2 separate regions of the Homo sapiens genome follow, and region 2 is linked to region 1. The links are contacts of gene promoters, found by promoter capture Hi-C in blood cells and fetal thymus (Javierre and others, 2016). All regions are on one chromosome and are shown on one strand. Each heading gives the region's core, a stretch centred on a gene start or on the middle of the fragment in contact. The rest is flanking DNA. Distances are from core to core; before and after follow the strand shown.

Region 1 (4,765 bases), core at 1,255-3,754:
CTGGGCTGGAGCACAGTGGCATGATCATAGCTCACTGCAGTCTCAACCTCCCTGGCTCAAGCCATCCTCCCACTTCAGCCTCCCAAGTAGCTGTGAGTACAGGCTCATGCCACCATGCCCAGCTATTTTTTTTTTTTTTTTTTTTTTTGGTAGAGACGGAGTCTCACTATGTGGCCCAGGCTGGTCTCAAACTCCTAGGCTCAAGCGACCCTCCCTCTGTGGCCTCCCAAACTGCTGGGATTACAGGCAGTTTTTTATATTAATCATCCATTCACTTGCAGTGAGCCACTGCTCCCAGCCCAAGGCCTACTTCTGCAACAAGTGCTTGCACAGCATTTCCTGCCTTCTGTCCATCACTTCTACAGCCTCCATTACAGCTGTGTCATTTAACCAAACAGTGAGTAGTTACATGCTAAATCTCTAAAGAGCACACAAAGTTGGTATATCCCCTACAAAACGGTTACTTATACAATAGAACTAGGGAGAACTCATCGGTTCTTATGACGTAGATGTCAGACTTACCTTGGAATTAAGCTGATAGATTTGACTAGATATATTTTGAGGCAGACCAATTGCACTCCCTTTTAACTCTATAATATCTTCTTTGTTTTTCTGGATCTAATTTTAGAAAAAGAAGAAGAAATGAAGAGCACTAGTGAAAATATCATATTTATCTTTACAGTAACATAATTAAAAACTTGAGTAGTATTCTACTTTAAGCACTAAGATCTTGCCTATTATTATAAAAACCAAAACAACACCATGCGTAATAAACACTGGGCTAAAATAGCCACAGCATAATTCCACTTATCCTTTTCAGTAACAATAGATCAAGGTATTTTCCATTTGTATGTTTTCCTATAATACCAGTTTAGGGTGCTTATTAAGAAACCTGGCTTGGAAGCAGACTGTTTAGGTTTTAAGTCCTGGCTCAGCTATTTATTGCTGTCCTGGGCAAGTTACCTAACTGCTTCAGGGTTTCTTTACCTCTTGTAAAACTAGGGTGACAATAAAGGCCACCTCATAGGACAGCTGTGAAGGTCAAATGAGATAACATCCATACGGTGCTAAGCACAGTGGATGGCCCACAGTAAGCTCTGAATAATGCTGACTTCTAACATTATGACTGAAATATGCAGTGATTATTGGGAAATGAAAACACCCAGTAAGGCAGGAGAATAACTGGCCAATTCTGTTCTGTGGCAAAAGCAAACTGGTCACATGTCCACATATCCTTGGTCCCCTACTTCCTCGCATCCCCTGTGGAGGAGTTTCAGTTCCACCCTCCGTGCCTTCTCTGGACTAGGGTGCATTGTCTGGCACAATGAGCTTCTATCTTTTAGCATACTCCCTCTACCCACTATTAACCCCAGGCCATCGTCCTTTACAAGAACATGTCTGATGCCCAATTATGTTCTCTATGCTAAAGATTCAAGGTACACTAGGAAGGGGGAGGGAGGCTGAAGACAGGTTGATTAATGAATACAATATATAGTTAGATAGAAGAAATAAGACCTAGTGTTTGATAGACCAGTAGGGTGACTATAGTTAACATTAATCTATTGTACATTTCAAAATAACTAGAAGAGAACAATTCATATGTTCTTAGCATGAAGAAAAGGTAAATATTTAAGGTGATGGATATCCCAATTACCCTGATTTGAACTTTACACATTATAGGAATGTATCAAATTATGTATTAATAAAAAATAATAATTAAAAAAGATTCAAGGTACAGATTAATCTAGACTTGTTCAATTAAGTCACCGTATATGGATATACAAAATGACTTCAATATATTTCCAGTGTATTACCTGATGTAAACACTCACTGAGATCTTCATCATTTAATTTAATTTTTCCCAGGGATCCGGTTCTAAACTCAATGTTTTGAGCAGACCCCGTAAGAAACACCAAATTTCCTCTCTCTGTAGCCATTCGAGGCCTATATAATTCAAACGAGAGAATGCATCAGTAATTAGCAAGTACAATTTTTAAACCAAAATAACAAAGTTTCTTACTGAATAACTACAGGCCAAATACATCTTCACTTTTTGATCATCTCAACCCAACTGCCCCTGCTCATCTGCCACTTTTTTCTCTGCACATTTCTCAGAGATACCTCCTGGCAATTGCAAACAGATTATTTGCAAAATGACAGATAATAATTTGTGCATAGGAAAGTAATTTCATACCTCAGTCTAAATGTTTTTCCCTGTTTGCTTCTCAACATAATTTTCCTCAAGAAAAATTGCACCTTTGTTTATCTGGCTATTTGGGAAAACTGGTGAGGAATTAGCCTAGTCCCTGAGCAGGAATGACCCATGTGTTTACTTACTGTTGGAGATTGATGCTTCTTTTTTGTCTCTGCAGCTCAAGTTCTCCAGCTTCGCCATTTACTTCAGCAAATATTAATAAGGTAAGCAAACTCCAAAGAAAAGGTAAAGACATGTTCATCATCAACCTCCCAGGTTGGCAGGTAAGAGTGAGGCCACTCCAACCAACTGAGCATGGGATTTTGGAGAACAGCAAACCAGGCAGGTGTACTTTGAACCATGGAATATCCTGTAACTGTTGAGTTTTTTCTTCTTTGCCCTAGAAGGCTATGTTATTTTTTCTTCCAGAGGGATGTAAATGATCTTAGATCTTCAGTACTCTTCAACTTGTGAGAGGTCAAAATCTACCTTAAGTGATGCGCAACTTAATCATTATCTATTTGACCTTTGAAACAGTAACAAGCAGCTTTGAAAACATCCACTTAAACAATCTTTGCTTAAGAAGTAACTAGGTTTCAACAAAAGTAAACTGGTCATTATCTACACCTTTCTCTGTTCCCCTCCTTCCTCACCTCCCTTGCAGAGGAGTTCCACCTTTACCCAGCGCTAGGAAAACTAGATATCCACATGCAAAAGAAGTTGGAGGCTTACCTCATACCATATGCAAAAATTAACTCAAAAAAGTTCAAAGATCTAAATCTAAGAGCTAAAACTATAAAATTAACTCACAATGGTTCAAAAAATCTGAAACTATAACATAAAACTCAGAAGAATAGGACAAAAATTCATGACCTTGGATTTTGGATTTGGCAATGATTTCTTGAGTATGATACCAAAAGCATGGGCAAAAAAAGAAAAACACACAGACAACCAAAAGATATAAATTGGAATACATCAAAATTAAAAACGTTTGTGCATCAAAAAATACATCAACAGAGTGAAAAAGCAACTCCCAGAATGGAAGAAAATATTTGCAAATCATATATATATGAAAATGGGTTAATATCCAGAATGTACAAAGAATTTGTACTTTTTACTTTTTATCATCCCTGTGGGACCTATGGACGGCTGTGGAATCCATTCCCACTTTCCACACTGCGCTATACACCCTTCCAGCTGGATATATGGTTTGAGGACATGGAGCACTGATGTCCCCACTCACTCTGTGCTGGGACTACAGAAACCACTGAGAGTGATGAAAATATTCTACATTTCGATTGTAAAATCAACTATTGATGCACTCAGACTTTCCATGAGCACACAGACAAAACTGAATTTGAGGGAGAGCTGTAAAAATTTCACTTCTAAGAAAAATCTCTAGGTAATTACCATTGCATTGGTTAATACCCATGCAGGCTCTTTCAGGACAAGCCTGTTTGTGTTTTACTTATTTTGTGTCTTACTTATGTAGGCTCTTTGAGGAGAGGATCATTATGTACCATAGCTTATAATTCTTTACTTATGCCGGGCGCGGTGGCTCACGCCTGTAATCCCAGCACTTTGGGAGGCCGAGGCGGGCGGATCACGAGGTCAGGAGATCGAGAACATCCTGGCTAACGTGGTGAAACCCCGTCTCTACTACAAATACAAAAAATTAGCCGGGCTTAGTGGCGGGCGCCTGTAGTCCCAGCTACTCGGGAGGCTGAGGCAGGAGAATGGCGTGAACCCGGGAGGCGGAGCTTGCAGTGAGCTGAGATCATGCCACTGCACTCCAGCCTGGGGGACAGAGCGAGATGCCGTCTCAAAAACAAAACAAAACAAAAAAAAACTTTACTTGTGATACTCAAATAGTCACTGCTTTTAAAAATTTTTTTTAAACCTTCCCAATTTCTTCTATATGTCTCTTGTATCTGCTTCTTTCACTCAACATAATGCTTTTGTAATTCATCTGTGCTGTAGTGTATATCATTAATTGGTTCCCTTTTATTATTGAGTAGTATTTCATCATATGGCTATCCCACAGTTTGCTTCTCTACTCATCAGTTGATAAACACTTGAGTTATTTCCAGTTTGGGACTATTATAAATAAAGCTGTTATGAACATTTGTGAACAGGTCTTTGTGTCAACATAGGTATCTCATTACAATTTTAATTTATATTTCCCTAATGACCAAAGATGTTGGGCATCTTTTTATGTATATTTGCCATTTGTTTATCTTCTTCGGTGAACTGTCTGTTTAGATATTTTGCCTATTTTTTAAAATTTTGTTGTTTGTCTTTTATTGATTGTAAGAGCTCATATATTCTAGATACAAGAATTTTCAAATACGTATTTTGCAAATATTTTTCTGCCAACCTGTGGCAAGTCATTTTGCTTGCTTAAAAATATTTTTCAAGGACAACAATAAGACACAAAAGACTACTTCCTAAGTGATTCTATATCACATGATTCCATATGAAAATCTAAAAAAGCCAAAACTACACTGATTGATAGACAACAAATCAGAGGCCAGGGGTTGGGGAGGAGATTGATCGCAAGGAGGCATGAGG
Region 2 (4,765 bases), core at 940-3,439, 270 kb before region 1:
CAGCCAGAGGCCTTAAACGTGCTTACGTTTTGTTCTTGTTTTTATTGTTGTCTAGGACTTTGTGCTCCTGTGATCCACTAAGATATCATGTGCTGAGTAACTGCTGGTTCAAAGAAAAAGTGGATTCATGTGGAGCAGACTTGAACCCAGACTCAACTTTACAGCCAACTACAGCCAACCCGCAGCTTGGAACGGAGGCAGGCAAGCTAGTCCGTGGACCCATAAGTGATAAAAACAAATGCTTTCATTATAAGACACTGAATTTTGGATGGTTTGTTAAGTAGCACTGTCATGGTAATAGCAGACTAATACACACAACTAATATTAATAGCTTGTTTGAGCTATCAAACTATAATAGAGCTCATTGTTCAATTCACAAAATATACACACAGAATAAAGAACATGGAGAAAAATATCATGAGATAATCCTGGCCAAAATAATCAAATATTTGAAGTGAATATCATATTACATGAGTGAACAGTTATTTGTGTAGTGCAGGGAATAGCAATTGCTCTAATTCCCCCTCTTTAGTGCTTAAATATAGCAAAACTGCTCCATGCAAAATGAAATGTAAGTGTATATGTCTTTGAGAAAACGTAATGATCAATATTAACAAAAGAAGGGTTCTTTCCCAAAAGGAGCTATTGCCACATTGCTCTTTCTGTGTTTCAATGGTGGGGGAATATAAACAAGGGCGACCTCTGTGACTATGCAATAGAGTCCCACGCATCAGAAAGTCATATATATTTACCATACTGATATTTTGAAATTGCATTTTTTAATGTATAAGCCATCTTAACCTTGATATGTTTAGCATCACCAATCCATCATTTCCTCATTACTACACATTTTGGGGCCACCTAGACAGCTCTCATCCATCAGCACCTGCCTCATCAATCAGGTGTGTCAGTCACTCTCTGATGACACACCCTGCGTCCAAGAACAAACGTCACTCTTTCTTCCCTGAATTGGAAATATCTCTCTCACACAAAAGAGCCATTTCTTCAGAGAAAATACATGTTTTGGCTAAAGAAATATTGGAAATATAACCCCATAATAAGGAGTGAGATCCAGGTCTAAATCTACTTAATTAAAAATCGGTAACCGAATCCTGAATTATTACCTTCCAATGACTAAACCTCAGAGTGAAGCTTAAGCCAAGATCAATCTGATAAGGGAAAAAATAGTTACATTCTCTTGGATAAAACATCTCGAAGGCTTCAGTGGAGTTAGATACATTTTTAAATCATTATTTGGAGAATTGACATTTTTGTGGCTCACATTCTATACGGCTGACATTTTCCTGAGGTTGTCTGGATAGTATCTCTGCCTGTCTCTGGTTGACCACTACTGAGAAGGTGCACAGTGTGCTGTACGAGCAGATACAGACTGGCTTGACTTCAGGCCCTCTCCTGTTTCCAGCAAGCCATCTGTGGCTTTAGGCTGCAGCTGAAGGAAGCTTTACTGGAAACTACAGGAAGCAGAATACAAAGACATTTAAAGCTGGTGCCTTAGGGAAATTCGAGCACACCTAGACAGCTTCCTTTCTACCACCCAGGGATGCAGGGCTAGAAATGCATTATCCTTTTTTGGAATCAGCCTTACTGTAATTTATAAAGCTGCAGATACACAATTGCTCCAAAGCAGTGTATTCATGTAAAAACATTCTACTAGGTTTCAGACGAACCTGTTTTGTCTTTTTCTCTAAAAGTAAACAGTGTTTATTATTTTACTCCCTAATCTCCAATGTGTACAATACTTCAGGTATAATATTTATGTTTTACAAGAAAAAAGTTAGTAGTTTTTGTAATGAGGTTTTTTATTGTTTTGTTTGTTTTTAGTTGCTTCACTTAATTTGACTCACTTTAGTTATCCTAATTTGAAACCCAGCTTAATCTAAATTAAAATGTGTATTTAGTCTGGTAATATTTAGGAATCATAAAACTAAAAGAATGGTAATTTACTAAAAGAAAGGTAATTTCAGCAAGCTAATCAGTAGCTGTAGTTAATAGAAAAAGAGCAATACTTGTATAAAGAACTTAGGAGAAGGAAAATTTTATCGTTATCTTTTAATTTATCTTGCATTATTTAGATATCACTGAAAATGCTCTATGCATACATCATTAGCCCCAGGGCATTTTATGAGAATCATTCTTTCCAACTTGGAAATTAAAAAAATAATTTACTAAGCAAAATGACATGATCATGTCAGTTGATGCTGAAAAAGGATTTGACAAAATCCAACACACATTCATGATAAAAACTCTTGGCAAACTAGGAATAGAGGAGAAATTTCTTGACTTGATAAAAACCATCTGCAAAAACCTACAGCTAACAGCATAATTAATGGTGAAATACTAAACGCTTTCTCCCTAAGATCAGGAACAAGGCAACGATATTGATTTCACACCCCTCTAACTCAGCGTAGTATTAGAATTCTTGCCAGAATAAAGCAAGAAAAAATATATAGAGAGACTGGAAAGGAAGAAATAAAATTTCCACTTTTGCAAGTAACTATTAGCTGCAGAAAATCCCAAGTAATATGGAAAAACATTCTTAGAACTAACATATGAGTTCAGCAAGAACTCAGGATAAAGGAACAATACACAAAAATCAATCAAATTTTAATATACTAACCATTAACATGTGGAGACCAAAATTAAAAAACAATACCATTTATAATCATTACAAAAAAATGAAATATTTAGGTATATACTTAATGAAGCAGATACAGGCTTATGTGATGAAAATTACAAAATAATGAAATAAATAAAAGAAGGCCTAAATAAGTCTAGATACATATATGTTCATGGATTGGAAAACTCAACATAGTAAAGACATCAGTTTTCCCCAAATTGATGGATAGATTTAATGCAATTCCTATAAAAATCTCAGCAAGGTTTTTCTGCAAACATCAAAAAGCTTAACTTATTTTTATTTTTATTTATTTACGTTTTTTTAGGATAGAGGCTTGCTCTGTCACCCAGACTGGAGTGCAGTGGTGTGATCACAGCTCACTGCAACTTTGAACTCCTGGGCTCAAGGGATCCTCCTACCTCAGCCTCCCAGTTAGCTAGGACCACAGGCAAATGCCACCATGCCTGGCTAATTTTGTTATTTTTGGTGAAGACAGGGTCTTGCTATTATTGGCCAGGCTGGTCTTGAACTCCTGGCCTCAAGGGATCCTCCCACCTTGGTCTCCCAAAGCTCCGGGATTACAGGCATGAGACACTGCCCCCAGCCTTTATTTTAAAATTTATATGGAAAGGCACAGGCCTTCAAATAGCTAAAACAACTTCACAAAGAAAAATGAAGTGGGATGAATCACTCCACCTGATATTAAGGCTTACCATGTAGCTATAGTAATCAAGACAGTGTGATATTGGTGAGGAGTTAGACACATAATCAATGGAATAGAATACAGAACCCAGAAATAGACCTATACAAATATGTCCAACTGATTTTTTTCAAATGTGCCAATGCAATTCAATGAAGGAAGGACAGCCTTTTCAACCAATGGTGCTAGAGCAATTGGACATCCAGAGGCAAAAAACTGACTTCCACCTAAATCTCATATCTAAACCAAAATGAGCTCAAAATGGATCATAGACACAAATGAAAAATGTAAAATCATAAAACTTTTAAAAGAAAACACCAGAATAATCTCTGGGACCTTGGGGTAGGCAAAGAATTCTTAGACTTGGTATCAAAAACATGATCTATAAAAGAAAAAGTCGATAAATTGAACTTCAACATTAAAAACTTTTGTTCAGTGAAAGGCCAATATAAGGCAAGAAAATTAAAAGGCAAGATATAGACTGGGAAATAACATTTGCAAACCACATACTGACAAAGGATCATTGATTGAGAATAGATAAAAAGCTCTCAAAACCCAACAATAGAAAAATAAACAATTCAATTAGAAAATGGGTAAAAGATATAAATAGATATTTCACCAGAGAATAGATATATAGATGACGAAAAGCACGTGAAAATTGTTCACCATTAAATTAAAATCACATGAGATATTAATACACACCTACCAGAATGGCTAAAATAAAATTAAATAACAACAACAGCAACAATAACAGTACTCTACAATGAGATGACCAGGGGAGGGATGGGGGTCCCCAGTTATAGAAAGCAATGGCTTCCTAATCAAAATAATACAAGCCAGAGCATGATGGAATAGCATCGTAAAGTCCTGAATGAAAATAAATGCCAAATTAGAACTCTATACTCAGAGCAAGAATCCCACAGAATTTAAGAAAATCAAGTCATTTTCGAAAAACAAAAACAAAGAACACTTTTTACCAGAAGATCTCCAATGAAAGAAACATAAAAGAGAGGTCTTCCAAAAGAAATACATTAATCCCATATGGAAGCATAGAATTTCAGGAAGAAAAGAAAAATAACAGCAAGGGTAATTTTACATTATTAGTAATTGTATAAAACAATAAAAATGTTTTGTGTACCTATTATGTACGTAGAATTAAAATACTTGGCATAGATAGCACAAAAGACAGGAAGTGGGTAAGTGGGTTTAAAATGTTCCAAGGTCCTTGGATTGATTATTGATTATAACATGATAAAAGTATCAACTTTAAATTAGATTCTAACATATTAAGGTTGAATACTGTAATCTCTAAGGTAACTACTGAAACAAGAGTCACAGGATGTATAAATAATAATTTTAAAAGGGGAGTAATAAAAAAGTGATTAATTTTAAAAAGAAAAGATAGTTAAAGGAAAACAAAAAGAAGT

The links. Contacts are between HindIII fragments. The CHiCAGO score rates a contact against its expected background, and 5 or more counts as called.
Region 2: a contact is called between a fragment that was not itself captured here and the fragment with the promoter of CUBN in region 1, in 12 of 17 cell types (activated CD4 T cells, total CD8 T cells, M1 macrophages and 9 more). The highest score is 12.2, in activated CD4 T cells.

Annotation. Positions count from the first base shown.
Region 1 is chr10:17,127,307-17,132,071 of GRCh38, forward strand. It overlaps CUBN (cubilin), which reads right to left and starts at 2,505. Exons shown (of 67, transcript NM_001081.4): 1 at 2,338-2,505; 2 at 1,815-1,944; 3 at 523-618. The coding sequence starts at 2,459. The HindIII fragment of the contact is 5,551 bases long and covers 1-4,765 here.
Region 2 is chr10:16,855,378-16,860,142 of GRCh38, forward strand. The region is part of intron 59 of CUBN (cubilin); the gene reads right to left. Among named protein-coding and RNA genes, the nearest start is that of RSU1, 40 kb to the left of the region's middle. RefSeq lists a silencer at 869-1,069. The HindIII fragment of the contact is 1,463 bases long and covers 1,459-2,921 here.